Regions from separate parts of the Homo sapiens genome. Here regions 2, 3, 4 and 5 are each linked to region 1. The links are contacts of gene promoters, found by promoter capture Hi-C in human tissues and cell types (Jung and others, 2019). All regions are on one chromosome and are shown on one strand. Each heading gives the region's core, a stretch centred on a gene start or on the middle of the fragment in contact. The rest is flanking DNA. Distances are from core to core; before and after follow the strand shown. Region 1 holds the start of RPL26L1 (ribosomal protein L26 like 1). Region 2 has its middle 15 kb from the start of NKX2-5. Region 3 overlaps NEURL1B (neuralized E3 ubiquitin protein ligase 1B). Region 4 holds the start of STC2 (stanniocalcin 2). Region 5 has its middle 29 kb from the start of NKX2-5.

Region 1 (2,700 bases), core at 130-2,629:
ACCTGAGGTCGGGAGTTCAAGACCAGCCTGACCAACATGGAGAAACCCCGTCTCTACTAAAAATACAAAATTAGCCGGGCGTGGTGGCGCATACCTGTAATCCCAGATACTGGGGAGGCTGAGGCAGGAGAATCGCTTGAACTTGGGAGGCGGAGGTTGCGGTGAGCCGAGATGGTGCCACTGCACTGCAGCCCAGGGAACAAGAGCGAAACTCTATCTCAAAAAAAAAAAAAAAAAAAATCTAGTATTAGTAAACGCAGGTGTTTAACAATGTCACCACTACATGTCAGGGAACACTGATAAACTAAGAGAGAGCACGGGACCTGCCTGGGTGTGGCTGCTGTACTTGCAAGACATCTTCCCTCTCTGAGTTTCAGCATGCCGGCATTTGGCACTAAGTTGTCGTTCAACATATATGGAATGAATGAACGAAAGGGAGAGTTGGAGTTAATAACACCTTGCATAGAATAAACCCCGTCGGTTCTTAACCCGAAGAGAGTCGAGACCCAGAGCCCTTTTCCTTCCCTGCCGCCACGGTGCCCACGGAGGGGGCGTGGTTGATCTCCCTCACAGCTCCGTCGGGACCAGAGACCCGGGGACCTTTTACACCCAGGGTCCGCGCAAAGTGTCGGCCTAGCCAGTGGTTGGGTGGCGCCCGGGCCTCCAGGCAGTCTTCCAGGGGTCGGCGAACGAAACGCGGAGCTCGGGAGCGACCCGGCGGGGCCAGGCACGGGCAGAAGGGCCAAGAGGGCCACAGGTGGGCGCGGAGCGGCCGGAGTGGGCGGGGACTGGATGAGAGGGGCGGGGTCTAGGAGAGAGGGGCGGGGCGGCGGCCACAAACCCGCAGGCACGCCGCCGGCCGCCGTTTAGTCCCAGAGATAGAAAAAAGTAGAGGTAGGAGGGCGCGGCGGCTCACGCCTGTAATCCCAGCACTTTGGAAGGCCGAGGCGGGCGGATCACGAGGTCAGGAAATCGAGACCATCCTGGCTAACAGGGTGAAACCCCGTCTCTACTAAAAATACAAAAAATTAGCCGGGCGTGGTGGGGGGCGCCTGTAGTCCCAGCTACTCGGGAGGCTGAGGCAGGAGAATGGCGTGAACCCGGGAGGCGGAGCTTGCAGTGAGCCGAGCTCGCGCCACTGCACTCCAGTCTGGGCGACAGAGCGAGACTCCGTCTCAAAAAAAAAAAAAAGAACACCAGTAAGCCTCTACCGCAGGCCCTACACAAGCAGGCCCTTGTACTCACTGGCATCGCCCTCCCGGGGCCGCCAGGAATGAGGCACTGAGATCCCACCCCAAGCCGCTGGGGGCGCCATTCGACTTCGCTCCTACGGAAATGGGGCTTCGATGTCTTTCTGCGCTTGCGCGGCACGGAAACTCACTTCCGGCCCTGCGCACTCAGGGTCTGAGGCAGCTAGTAGCCGGGTGAGTGGAGGCTGGAGTTTTCTCGGACAGTGAACTCTACCGCCCCGTGAGACCCTGCCCTATGTGTCGCGGGAACACATGTCACCCCACAGCTCTCTTTGAGTGACCTCCCGACCACCCATTCCTGCCTAACCCTAGCATTCCTTCCTCAGCCTCAAGGTCCCAGTGCTACCCTCTCCCCCACGACCCCTTTAGACGGGCATGCGACCTCCACACACGCCTCACTTTATGTGATAGTCAGACTAGTCGCATCTCTCTGTCCTCCCTCAGTTGCCTTTTCAGAGGCTACCTCCCCTGTAGAGCCTTTGTTGGGGGATGAGGAGTGTCTTGGGTCGAGAACAGGCCCCTGTAACCCACTGAGCGCCCCTTCATTCCGTCTCTCTCCGCCCTTTGTAGAGGGTCACCATGAAGTTCAATCCCTTCGTTACCTCGGACCGCAGTAAAAACCGCAAACGTCACTTCAATGCCCCCTCACACGTGCGCAGGAAGATCATGTCATCCCCGCTCTCCAAGGAGCTGCGGCAGAAGTACAATGTCCGCTCCATGCCCATCCGCAAGGACGACGAGGTCCAGGTACGTCTCCCTCCGGCGCTAGTGGCGCTCGGACACCGTTGCCTAAGAACGTCATGCGTGGAGCAGTCACAGACTCACATGCCTCAGGACTCTGGAAAGTAGTGTGACCCTTCAGATGTGTTAGGCCAGAGATAGGGTTCAGAGCCACCAGAGAGTGCCTGCGTTGCTTTAGAGCATTTAATTATTTAATAGTAATAGTAAAATTTAATAAAACAGTATGTCAACCAAGCAAAAACCTGCTTTTTTGTTTGTTTTGTAGAGATAGGGTCTTGCTATGTTGCCCAGGCTGGTCTCTGAACTCCTGGCCTCAAGTGATCCTCCCACCTCAGCCTCCCAAAGCACTGGGATTACAAGTGTGAGCCACCGTGCCCCACCAAAAATACTTTTGATTTAACCTTCTGGCTGCTAGTTTGCCAAGTGTTGTTGCCCAGGGTGGCTTGTTGAACCAGACTGTAGGGGAAGGTGCTGCAGTGAGAGTAGTGTTTTAGTGTATTTGGGTGTAGTGGGATTGATGGACAGAGATTTGTGGGAGCTGGCCATGTGATAGCATTGGATTTGGCAGGAGAACTGGTAAAGATGCAGCGAGTCACTCTTTCATAATTTCTAAAAGACTGGCCCATGTGAGAACGTACAAGCCCTCTGTTCTCTGTGATTGGAGCTTAGAATGCATGAGAGGAGGGAAGGGAGTTGGATATGAGTGAAA
Region 2 (2,700 bases), core at 165-2,664, 260 kb after region 1:
TAGAGACAGGGTTTCACCATGTTGGCCAGGATGGTCTCGAACTCCAGACCTCATGATCCGCCCACCTTGGCCTCCCAAAGGGCTGGGATTACAGGCGTGAGCCACTGTGCCTGGCATCATTAAAAACCTTAATAAAAAAATCATAATCTGTTACATAAATGTACTTGTAATTATACAAAATGACAATAAAGTTTTTCATCGCAGCATCGTTTGTAAGACAAAATGGAAATAGTTTTAACAGGAACTAGTTAAACAAATTATAGTACATCCATGCAGTGAAATAGTATGTAGGTATAATAAAAAGAATGAGACTTCCTTTAGAAACTAATATGGAACAATCTCCAGAAATAAAATTAAGTAAAAAAAGGCAAGATGCAAAAACAGTAAGATGAAAATCTACCACTTATGTAGAAAGGGTAAGAAAAGAAGTAGTTGTTTGCTTGTTTGTGCGTAAGGTATCTCTGGATACCTTGTCGCTGTATATCCTTTGATTTGTCACTGTATGTCCTTTGACATTTCCTTTGACGTTTTGTGAAAAATTTCAAAGCATATTTTTAACTGTTAGCTATACATACAGCATGAGGCATAAAACACACAGTCACAGTTTTACTTACTAAAAACACATATTCACGGTTTTACTTAGTAATAAAGTAACACCCATATAACAGCCAGCCAGGTCAAGAAATACAGCCTTGCTGGAAAAATCTACAATGATTCAAAACCTCCACCCTCTTTCTGGAAACTAACACACTTTAACTCCATTTAATTCCTCCTGACTTAGAAGTTATTGTTGTCTGGTATTTTAATTCTAGCTTTCTGCAACCCCTGCCTTTTTTTTTTTTTTTTTTTTTTTTTTTGAGACAGGATCTCACTCTGTCACCCAGGCTGGAGTGAACTGCTCACTGCAGCCTCTACCTCCCAGGCTCAGGTGATCCTCTCACCTCAGCCTCCCGAGTAGCTGGGAGTGCAGGTGCACGCCACCACATCCTACTAATTTTTGTATTTTTTGTAGAGACAGGGTTTTGCCATGTTGTCCAGGCTGGTGTCAAACTCCTTGAGCTCAAGGGATCCTCCTGCCTCGGCCTCCCAAAGTGTTGGGATTACAGGCATGAGCCACTGTGCCTGGCCAGCTTCCCCCTTTTTAAACCCTACACTTTATAGTCAGGATTTGCTTACATTTGCTTACTTATTTACATCTATCTTTGCTTCTCATTCATTCTTCATTTCAGAGCTCATGTAATGAGTGTATTATAATTTTGAAATGAATTAGTAACTAGTCACAAATTGATTAGTATTAATAATGCATATTAATAAACATTAATATTAATGTTTACAAAATTCTCACTTTTTAATTTCTAACATGATCAATCTCAAGAGATATAACCCACCTAAACAAAAGCTCTTTGGGGTTGTCAATAATTTTTTATTTTTATTTTTGAGACAGAGTCTTGCTCTGTCACCCAGGCTGGAGTGCAGTGGTGCAATCTCGGCTCATTGCAACTTCTGCCTCCTGGGTTCAAGTGATGCTCCTGCCTCAGCCTCCCGAGTAGCTGGGATTACAGGTGTGCACCACCACGCCTGGCTAATTTTTGTATTTTTAGTAGAGACAAGGGTTTGCCATGTTGCCCAGGCTGCTCTCGAATTCTTGACATCAGGTGATCCGCCGGCCTCAGCCTCCCAAAATGCTGGGATTACAGGTGTGAGCCACCATGCCTGGCCTATTATGATTTATTTATTTTTTTGAGACAGTCTCCCTCTATCACCCAGCTGGAGTGCAGTCATGCAATCTTGGCTCACTGAAACCTCCACCTCCAGCGTTCAAGCAATTATCCTGCCTCAGCCTCCTGAGTAGCTGAGATCACAGGTATGTGCCATCACACCCGGCTAATTTTTGTATTTTTATTAGAGACCAAGTTTTGCCATGTTGGTCAGGTGGGTCTTGAACCCCTGGCCTCAAGTGATCCTCCCACCTCGGCCTCCCAAAGTGCTGTGATTATAGGCATGAGCCACCACTCCAGGCCCTCAATAATTGTTAAAAAATATAAAAGCTTCCTGAGACCAAAATGTTTGAGAACCTTTGACCTAGTGAAATTTTACTATTTCACAAGCTGGAAGTGATTGTTTTCAGAAGACAATGGGTGGGTGGGCTTGGGGTGGGGAATTCCAGGTCATCTGAATCTACTGAAAACAAGGATGAACATTTGAGTAAATGATGAAAATGTGCTTATTTAATCTCATAAATTTGGTTATAAATGCGTTTCTGTACTAACTTTTGAAAGGGAGAAAAATGAATTATGAGTTGTTTAGGCACAAGGGTCATAATTTTTTCTGACAATGTTATATTGCTGCTCATTCCTGTACTCCCAGCACTTTGGGAGGCCGAGGCGGGCAGATCGCTTGGGCTCAGGAGTTCTAGACCAGCCTGGGCAACAAAGCGAGATCTCATCTCTACAAAAATTTAAAAATTAGCTGGTGTGGTGGTAAGCACCTGTAGTAGTAGCTACTCAGGAGGCTGACATAGGATTGCTTGTGCCCACGAGTTTGAAGCTGCAGTGAGCTATGATTGCACCACTGCATTCCAGCCTGGGTGGCAGCAAGACCTTGTTTAAAATGTTTATATATATGTGTGTGTGTGTGTGTGTGTGTGTGTACATATATATATATGTATGTATGCGTGCATGTATATATCTTAAGTGGAGC
Region 3 (2,700 bases), core at 115-2,614, 280 kb before region 1:
CCGGTGGCGTCCGTCTTTTCAAAACACCCTCCATCAGCCCCCTCACCAGCCACAGTCCTGTCTCTCTGCCCTCCCTCCCTCAGGGCAGGTCTTTCTTAAGTGCTGGTTATGCCACCCTCTCCTTTTCCCTCTTAAGCTGTGCCCTGAGGCGTGAGTCCCTGCCCATCACTGACCTTCAGCCTGTCAGACCCTGAGCCTACATCCTGGGCCCACTACCGGGCCCCTCGCTTTCAGCCCAGGTGACCTCTCCCGGCTGTGTGAATGTTGCTGCTTGTGGCTCCTGGGCCTTCCCGAGCTCCCGCCGTTCCTCCTGCTTTCCTGGCCACCCCTCGCCCTACCTGTCCTCCCTATGTTGAAAGCCCCATGGTTCTATCCTGGGCCCACTCTTTCCTTTTTACTTTCTTAAATTGTGTAATACAATATGCATATAGGAAGGCATCTAAGAACAACTGTAGCATTCAACAGATTGTCATAAAACAAGCCTGTGTCTGTCTGCCCTCTTTCTCCAAGTTATCTGAGCCCATCATTGGGCTTCACATCTAGACTGTTGACTCCCAAACCCATCTTCCCAGCCCTGACACCTCCCTTGAACCCCAGGCCTCCCACCACCTATCCAGCCTCTCCTCCTACATCTGAGGGGCATCCCACACTGAACATGCTCGGACACAACTCTTGAATCCCCCACCTCCTGCTCCTCAGCCAGCCCCATTGGCAATAAGTAGCACCACCCCCTTGGTTGGCCATTGGCAGTAAGTGACACCACCCCCTTGGTTGGCCATTGGCAGTAAGTGACACCACCCCCTTGGTTGGCCATTGGCAGTAAGTGACACCACCCCCTTGGTTGGCCATTGGCAGTAAGTGACACCACCCCCTTGGTTGGCCAGTAACCCGGTGTCATTCTCGATTCCTCTTTTCCTTGCCTTGGATCCATTCTGTCAGTGAGTCCTGTCATTTCTGCCTCTAGTACATGGCCCGAGTCAGTCCCACAGAGTGGTGATTGATGGATATGTTTCTCTGTCCCCAGTTGTCCCTGCCTTCATTTTCGTGTCTACACCAAGATGGTTTCATTTGAGACATACATTTTGCTTTACTTCCAGCCCAGATATATTGGACCTAAGAGAGAAAGGGGAGGGGAAAAAGGGAAGAGCTAGGCCCTGGAAGTGGCTTGGGAGAGTGGGAGGTCAGGGGCCTGTCCCAGCCTCCTCGTACCTGACTGGGGACTGCTGCAGTGTGTTGGTACTCAGTGGCTATTCATGGCAGGGAGGCGGGGACATTAGGCCCGTGGAGACTGAAACTCCAACTTTGGCCGGAGGCCAAGTCCCGGTGCTGGGCTGCTCTCAGAGCTGAACGACAACAGCAGCATTGGGAGGCAGTATTGCTAGCCAGGGGCCTTGCTCTGGAGTCAAAGCCTGGGCTGGAATCCTGTCTGTCACCCCCAGGCTATGTGACCTTCAGTAACTCACTCCACCTCTCAGCGCCTCAGTGTTCTCCCACTGTGAAATGTGCCCATTTTACAGAGCCACATAAGATAGTGGTGAGGACCAAAGGGGACCATCAGGGTATGGAGCTGCGTCTAGCAGGCGCTCGAGAACGTGGTTATGTGTGTACTTGTTTCAGCCACCGGTAGAAGCTGGGCAGTCTCGACACGCTCCCTCGGTGCCTCTTGATGTTGCTGGATTTCTGCCTATAGCCGACTGGTTCTCCTTAGAAGAAATGCCCCTTTGAGCAATGCATTCTGAAGTGTCTGGCCTAGGCTGGCGCTGTGCTGTCTTGGGCCTGTCTCAATCAGGGCCCATGCCCAAGAGGAACAAAGCTCCTTCCACAAAGAATAAGTGAGGCCATGCAACCTTTTCTGAGGGGCTGCCGTGTGCCAGGTACCCAGCACAATGTCACATTCATTATAACCCAGCCTTGTAGACACGCCAAGCTTCCAGCACCTCAGTGCCTTCACATGTGCTGTTCTCTGTGCCTGGAGAACCTGCCCGGCCACAGATCCCTTATCTCCAGGTCGCAGCCTGTTGATCAGTCAGGGAGGCCTTTTCTGGCCTTAGTCCCCCTTTATACACCCTCAGAGAATCCCAGCTCTGTCACTCCCCAGCTGTGTGACCTCTTGGAGCCTCAGAGTTCCCCCACTGACACTTCCCCACATAGGACAGAGGCTCTTGGTGGCACTTGGCCCAGTTTTCTGTAAGATGGCTTCGTAGAGCCTTTATCTCCCACTTGAAAGGGAATTCCATAAGCACAGGAGCCACGCCTGTGTGTTCACCTCTGTTCACCCAGCACACAGCAGCGCTGGGCCCACAGTGAGTGCTCTATACGTTTTTATGATCATAATTAATGTTTTGAGCACTTAGTGCCATGCTCTGTATTACTCTTCATGACAGTAATTTCCATAACATGGGGGTGTTTACCACTATCACTCTATCACTCTATGTTATGCTGAGGGAGCTGAGGCTCTGGGAGGTGAAATGGCATACCTGAGGTCACATAGCCAGTAAAAGCCAAAGCCAGGACTTGAATCTAAGTCCGCCTGTCTCCATAGGCCATGCTCTTAATAAGGATGCTGCACTGATGGGCTCCTGTGTGGAGCCGCTGGGGGACAAGAGGAGGAGAGTTGGCGGGGGGGAAGGAGCAGGGCAAGTAAGGCCAGCGCCTTTAGGGGCGGGCGACTGTGAGTGGGGCAGGGAGCCTGGGAAAAGT
Region 4 (2,700 bases), core at 41-2,540, 370 kb after region 1:
GCCGCCGGGGCAGGACCGCACAGGGCCGCCATTCACTCACTTGGGGCGTCCCTAATGGGCACTCGTGCATTCCAGCTCGTGCGGTGAGCGCACGCACGCCGCCGCTGCCGCGTTCACACGGCCCCCCAAAGTCGGGGGAGGGGTCGTGGAGCGAAGGAGCTGTAGGCAGATTTTCTTTCTCTTTCCGAGCTGGGAAAAGGGCCAGCCCCGTGCCCTGCACGCCTGGCTCTGCTTTGCAGCTTGCCGGTGAGCCAAGAGCCGGTAGAGCAGAGGAGGCGCACGGTTCGGGTCGTGTCACCATTTCTTGGCTTGCTGACCTGGCCAGGAGCTGGGGATGGCGGCAGCACCGCGGAGGTACGCTTTGCGCTGCCCTCACGCTCCCTTCCGAAAGCAGTGCCCCCAGGGGGAAAGTTCGCAATGCCATTTGTCTCGCCGGCAAAGTTCTGGGATGTCGGGCATCTTTTGAGGAGGGGGAAGACGCGGCACCCTTACTGAGGCCGGCAGGCCAGGAAGAGAAGTTCTCCGGGCGCAGGGCGCAGCCCAGCTCCGGGGACCCTCTGGGCCTCCCGCGTGCCGGCCGGGATGAAGCGCGCTTTGCACCGGACCCGGGATTCGGGGGCGGGGGCTGGCGCTGGCAGCGTCAGACGCTGCTTCATTTCCCCTCGACCCTGGGGAGGACAGCAACAAGTCCTGCCCCAGCCATTTCATCACCCTGCTAGCACGTGCAGATTCCGGGCCCTCGGAGCCCGGCGCGGACCTCGCCTTGCCTCGCGCTTCCCTTTGCACGTCCCGTGCCATCCCAAGAGTTTGCGTGGCCCTGGGTGGGCGCCTGGCTCCCGGCGAAACGCCTGGGGCGCGCCGCGTGGGTGCACGGTGTCCTCTCCCAGTAGCTCCCGGCTGCGGGGGCACATGCACTTACCTGTATTCTGCAGGGACAGGCGGCCTTTCTGCTGGGAGCTCCTGTCTTGGGGACCCTCGGGTGGGTTGGTGGCGTCGGTCCCCCGCGCCGGGTCAAAGGTGGCCAACACCAAAGCCAGGGTCATGAACTGGCCCAGCCGCTCGGCACACATGGTTCTTGGTATTAACCTCCCGTCGGGAGACCTGGATCCTTTGTGCTCCCCTCTTCCTCCTCCTCCTCTTCCTCCTTCGCCGCTTCCCCTCCTCCTCCCACTCTTCCTTTTTGCTCGCCTTTTCCCTCCTCCTCGCGGCCGCGGCTCGGATAGAGGTTACCCAGCGCCCTCCCGTAGCTCTCCGGAGAGCATGTGACCAGGCCGTTAGCAGCGCCGCGAGTGCCCGGCAATGGCAGGGATGGTGCCTCAAATATCCCTGGAAGCTCTGGTGTCACTTGAATGAAGGAGTCGAGCAGGTGTTGTCCCGGCGGCTGGACCAATCCGAGACCCCGGCCCTTTTGACAACACGGCCGGGAGGCGGGGCCTGCGCTCAACTACTACAGGAGGAAGCCGAGCGCCGCTGGGAGCGCCGGACAAAGTTGCCGACCTGGCGGCGGCCACGCGTTTGCGTGCGTGTGTATGAGTGTGTGTGAGCGCGGCCGGAGATGCGTGCGCGTGTGCGGGTGCTCCAGGGCAATGGTCGAAAGGACTGTACAATATAAGAGCGAATCCAAGCTCCAGTTGCTGTTAAAGGGGGACGGTGTGCTCTGGGACAGTGTCCCTGGGGCCCCTGGCTCGCGTCACACCCACATCGGGTTGGGAAAGTTTCCTCTTTCCGCCGTTTGGAATTCAGTGAGATTCCCAGCCCAGAGGACTTGATAAATTGAAGCAGTTTCCTAGGCACAATGATGCTGTGGGCCAACTGAGCACACATGGGAATTCCTGGCCTTGTGACACTTTGCATTAAAAAGAACCCCACGATTGAAGATAGGAGCAGAAGCACTAGATACAGTATTTGGTCTGAGCAACTGCCCTATCTTCCCGCTTTGGTGGGCCGTGCAACACCTGGAGTGTCGTTTCTCGTCTTTCCCCTAATCCAGACGCATTCCAGGCTGGGCTGCAGGGATCCAGGTGACAGTCAGGACTTGCATCATTTCCAGGAGGGTGGCAGGGAGGCCCAAGGCAGCCCTGAGTCAGCCCGCCGCGGAGCATCGCGTGCCCGGAGGCCAGAGCTTGAAAGGCAACTTTACGCGTCTCCAAACACACTCCTGCATTTTCTCAAAGCGCTGCTCGCCACCCCGCTCCGGGTTCCCTTTTACTCTCCAGTCATCCGATGGAAGTGGTGAGAACAAAAACAAAGACAAAAAAGCTAAATCCGGGGAAGTTATCTCCATCTCCTCCCTTTTCTTGTTCGGCCCCCTCCCCAAGAACCGCCGGGTCGGGATAGCCCCCGGCTACTTTCTCACCCGGCCCGTGGAGGGAAGGAGAAAGTTGGGCGCCGCTTGGAGCGCCTCTTCCCCTGCTGTGTGTGTACGTGTGCACGCTCACGTCTCCCCCGCGCCGGGGCCGGGGACAGGAACTGCTCTCGGTCCCGTCACCCCACGGCGCAGCTCGGGGGGCTCGCAGGGCTGGGGGAGGGCGGGGACACGAGCGCCGCGCCCAAGCGCCCCAGGGCACGCACCCGGCGTTGGCGCGCACTCGCCCCTCCCCCCGTCCCCACCCTCCTCCTGGAGAACAGGTGAGCCCCGGTACCAGCTCTCGATCCCCCACCCCCGCCCCGCGCCCCGCCCGCGCCCTCTGCGGTAATGCG
Region 5 (2,700 bases), core at 67-2,566, 300 kb after region 1:
TGCTTTCCTTTTTTTGGAGACAGGGTCTGTGTCACCCAGGCTGGAGTGTATTGGTGCAATCATGGCTCACTGCAGCCTGGACCTCCTGGGTTCAAGTGATCCTCCTACCTCAGTCTCCCAAGTAGGTGGGACTAAGTGCCACCATGCCCAGCTAATTTCCATTTCTGTACTTCCTCTCTCAGCATTGCTATTTTGTTCCATCTACTGGAGTGTGAGAAAAAATTCAGTTCCACTCTGGCCACCTGTGGTAGCCAGCTTCCAAGACGGACCTTGGTGATTCTCAATTCCTGATATTCTGGAAGGATAGGAGGCCACATGGAGAACTGAAGCTCCTACTCCCCTCCAACAGTGAGTAGGACTGACCTGGTAACCAATAGTGTATTGTAGAAATGACTGTGTATGAACTCTGACTAGTGTTGGCCTCAAACTCCTGGGCTCAAGCAATCCTCTTGCCTCCCAAAGTGCTGGGATTATGGGTATGAGCCACCATGCCCAGCCTCTTTATTATTAGTTGATTTTTCTATATTTAATTTTTCTTTCTTTAAAAAATACTGCTTTGTATTCTTTGTGTCTTATTTATTTGCTTATTATTTTTTACTGTGTTTTGGACATTGCATTTGAAAAATTGCTTGCAGAACTAATTATAGGCTTCAGATGATGATATTTTCCTCCTAAGAAGATTTATGTTTGTCTCTGCTAGGCTCCTGGGGCACCGACAATTTAGGTTTACTGAAATCTAATTTCGGGGGTTTAGAATACCTGAAGTGGAGCCATGGTCTCTGCAAGGGCCTGTCTGCTTCTGGGTCACATTTACTTGTAGGGAGCTTCCCTTTAGAATCCCAGTTCAAGATGAATCTCAACTCTAATCTTGGTAAGCTTCACATTCGTCCCTGCCCCTTTAGCCCCGTGAGGCTCTTGAAAGTCCACCCAGCCTCTCTGCCAGCCATGGTAGAATTGGCCCACGCTGCCAGGCCCAGGGTAGCTCAAAGGACAGACTCACTTCGCACGGCTTCCTCCTTCCTTTGGGTCCTGGCTGGTTATTCTTCACTATTTTGTAGCTCTCTGGTGTCTTTAAGCAGTTCGGTTTTTTTTTTTATTTTGAATAATTATCAAATTTATTAAAAGCGTACAACAGATGCTTATAAACAGCAGCAAAATAAGCTGATAATCTTTTTCATTTCATCTGACCAATAAAATTCTCACAGTCTATACAGATTTTTCTTTCAGTTTATTTTACTTTTGTATGCTTTAGTGACAAATCCTTACACCTGAGACAAAGTGATCATCATTTAAGAATCACCATCATCATAAATTATTTTACATTTATTTTATTCTTTTACAGACAGGGTCTTGCTCTGTTGCCCTGCCTGGAGTGCACTGACTATTCAAAGGTGCCCTTCTAGTGCACTGCAGCCTTGAACTCCTAGGCTTAAGTGATCCTCGTGCCTCAGCCTCCCATGTAGCTGGGACTACAGGTGTGTGCCACCACTCCTGGCTTATTATTTTACATTTATTGAGATGAAGGGCAGGTTAATTTCATTATTTACTTTGAATCGATTAATAACCCTCAATTCTAAATGTGCTGGGCAAAGTAACAGAGAGGGCTTGACAATATCCCTCTTCATTATGTATTCCAAGACATTTCGTGATTTTTTTCCCATTTGTCTGATTTAGGATTTACTTATTCTGCAGCATTCCCAGTTGTCCTCAGTGGAATGGAGGGCAGTCTGAATTACGTACTTTGCTATTACTGATAATGGGAGTTCACCCTTCCAGATTTTATTAGTTCTAGTCTCAGCATGGTAACTAATTACTTCTACGACCTTGGGTTGAGGTTGGGCACGGTGGCTCACCCCTGTAATCCCAGCACTTTGGGAGGCCGAGGTGGGCGGGTCACTTGAGGTCAGGAGTTCGAGACCAGCCTGGCCAACATGGTAAAACCCTGTCTCTACTAAAAATACAAAAATTAGCCAGGTGTGGTGGCAGGCGCCTGTAATCCCAGCTACACGGGAGGCTGAGGCAGGGAGAACTGCTTGAACCCAGGAAACGGAGGTTGCAGTGAGCCAAGATGGCACCACTGCACTGCAGCCTGGGCGATAGAGCGAGATTCTGTCTCAAAAAAAAAAAAAAAAAAAAACTTTGGGTCACATGTGCTTTTCTTTCTTCATTTGTCAAATTAGATTGTTAACACTGGGCTTACCTGCCTCCTGGATTATTGCAGGAGCAAATGGGATAAGCTACATGGAAACCTGGAACCCAGTGTAAATGTGAGGTGCTAAAGCCCAGGTCCTACACCCTAGATTTCCCAAGGCATCTGAGCCCTGTGGGAAGGAGGGCCCTTGTTGACTCCCAGCCCCAGGGTGCAGGTGCCCAGAGCAATTTGCATCAGGTGGTCTCTTTTGTTGCTTTCTAAACATCAGGCAGGTTAATGGTACACCATTCTGCAAGTCAAATCTTGAATCTGGATGATCAGGTGAGTTTTTATCGTACTTTTTCTCATTTCTTTTCCCCCATAATTGCATTTCAGGAAGCGTCCCCGGGTTAGTTCTTTTTCTTTAGTTTTTGTGTCTAATAACTTTCCGTGAGCAGACCCCACAGTGTGCAGCAGTGAGGATCCCTGGACTTGGTTAAAAGAAAACCTCCAAACCTTGACCTCCCTGGGCAGCTCAGCCTGCCACCTGGCAGGGGCCCCTCTGGGGC

Evidence for each region. Contacts are between HindIII fragments. The study calls those that stand out against the background at their distance.
Region 2: a fragment that was not itself captured here is called in contact with the fragment with the promoter of RPL26L1 in region 1 in 1 of the 25 tissues and cell types used here (lymphoblastoid cells).
Region 3: a fragment that was not itself captured here is called in contact with the fragment with the promoter of RPL26L1 in region 1 in 1 of the 25 tissues and cell types used here (stomach).
Region 4: a contact is called between the fragment with the promoter of STC2 here and the fragment with the promoter of RPL26L1 in region 1, in 1 of the 25 tissues and cell types used here (lymphoblastoid cells).
Region 5: a fragment that was not itself captured here is called in contact with the fragment with the promoter of RPL26L1 in region 1 in 1 of the 25 tissues and cell types used here (mesendoderm cells).

The regions. Positions count from the first base shown.
Region 1 is chr5:172,958,045-172,960,744 of GRCh38, forward strand. RPL26L1 (ribosomal protein L26 like 1) reads left to right here and starts at 1,380. Exons shown (of 4, transcript NM_016093.4): 1 at 1,380-1,424; 2 at 1,821-1,997. The coding sequence starts at 1,830. It overlaps RPL26L1-AS1 (RPL26L1 antisense RNA 1), which reads right to left and starts at 1,324. Exons shown (of 4, transcript NR_026682.1): 1 at 1,246-1,324; 2 at 95-213. The HindIII fragment of the contact is 17,043 bases long and covers 1-2,700 here.
Region 2 is chr5:173,219,121-173,221,820 of GRCh38, forward strand. No RefSeq gene overlaps it. Among named protein-coding and RNA genes, the nearest start is that of NKX2-5, 15 kb to the right of the region's middle. The HindIII fragment of the contact is 5,980 bases long and covers 1-2,700 here.
Region 3 is chr5:172,677,801-172,680,500 of GRCh38, forward strand. The region is part of intron 2 of NEURL1B (neuralized E3 ubiquitin protein ligase 1B); the gene reads left to right. Among named protein-coding and RNA genes, the nearest start is that of MIR5003, 17 kb to the left of the region's middle. RefSeq lists an enhancer at 1-362. The HindIII fragment of the contact is 3,003 bases long and covers 1-2,700 here.
Region 4 is chr5:173,327,124-173,329,823 of GRCh38, forward strand. It overlaps STC2 (stanniocalcin 2), which reads right to left and starts at 1,291. Exons shown (of 4, transcript NM_003714.3): 1 at 920-1,291. The coding sequence starts at 1,070. LOC124901137 (a long non-coding RNA gene) reads left to right here and starts at 1,476. Exons shown (of 2, transcript XR_007059056.1): 1 at 1,476-2,628. RefSeq lists a silencer at 2,485-2,700. The HindIII fragment of the contact is 8,569 bases long and covers 1-2,700 here.
Region 5 is chr5:173,262,818-173,265,517 of GRCh38, forward strand. No RefSeq gene overlaps it. Among named protein-coding and RNA genes, the nearest start is that of NKX2-5, 29 kb to the left of the region's middle. RefSeq lists an enhancer at 2,381-2,700. The HindIII fragment of the contact is 6,740 bases long and covers 1-2,700 here.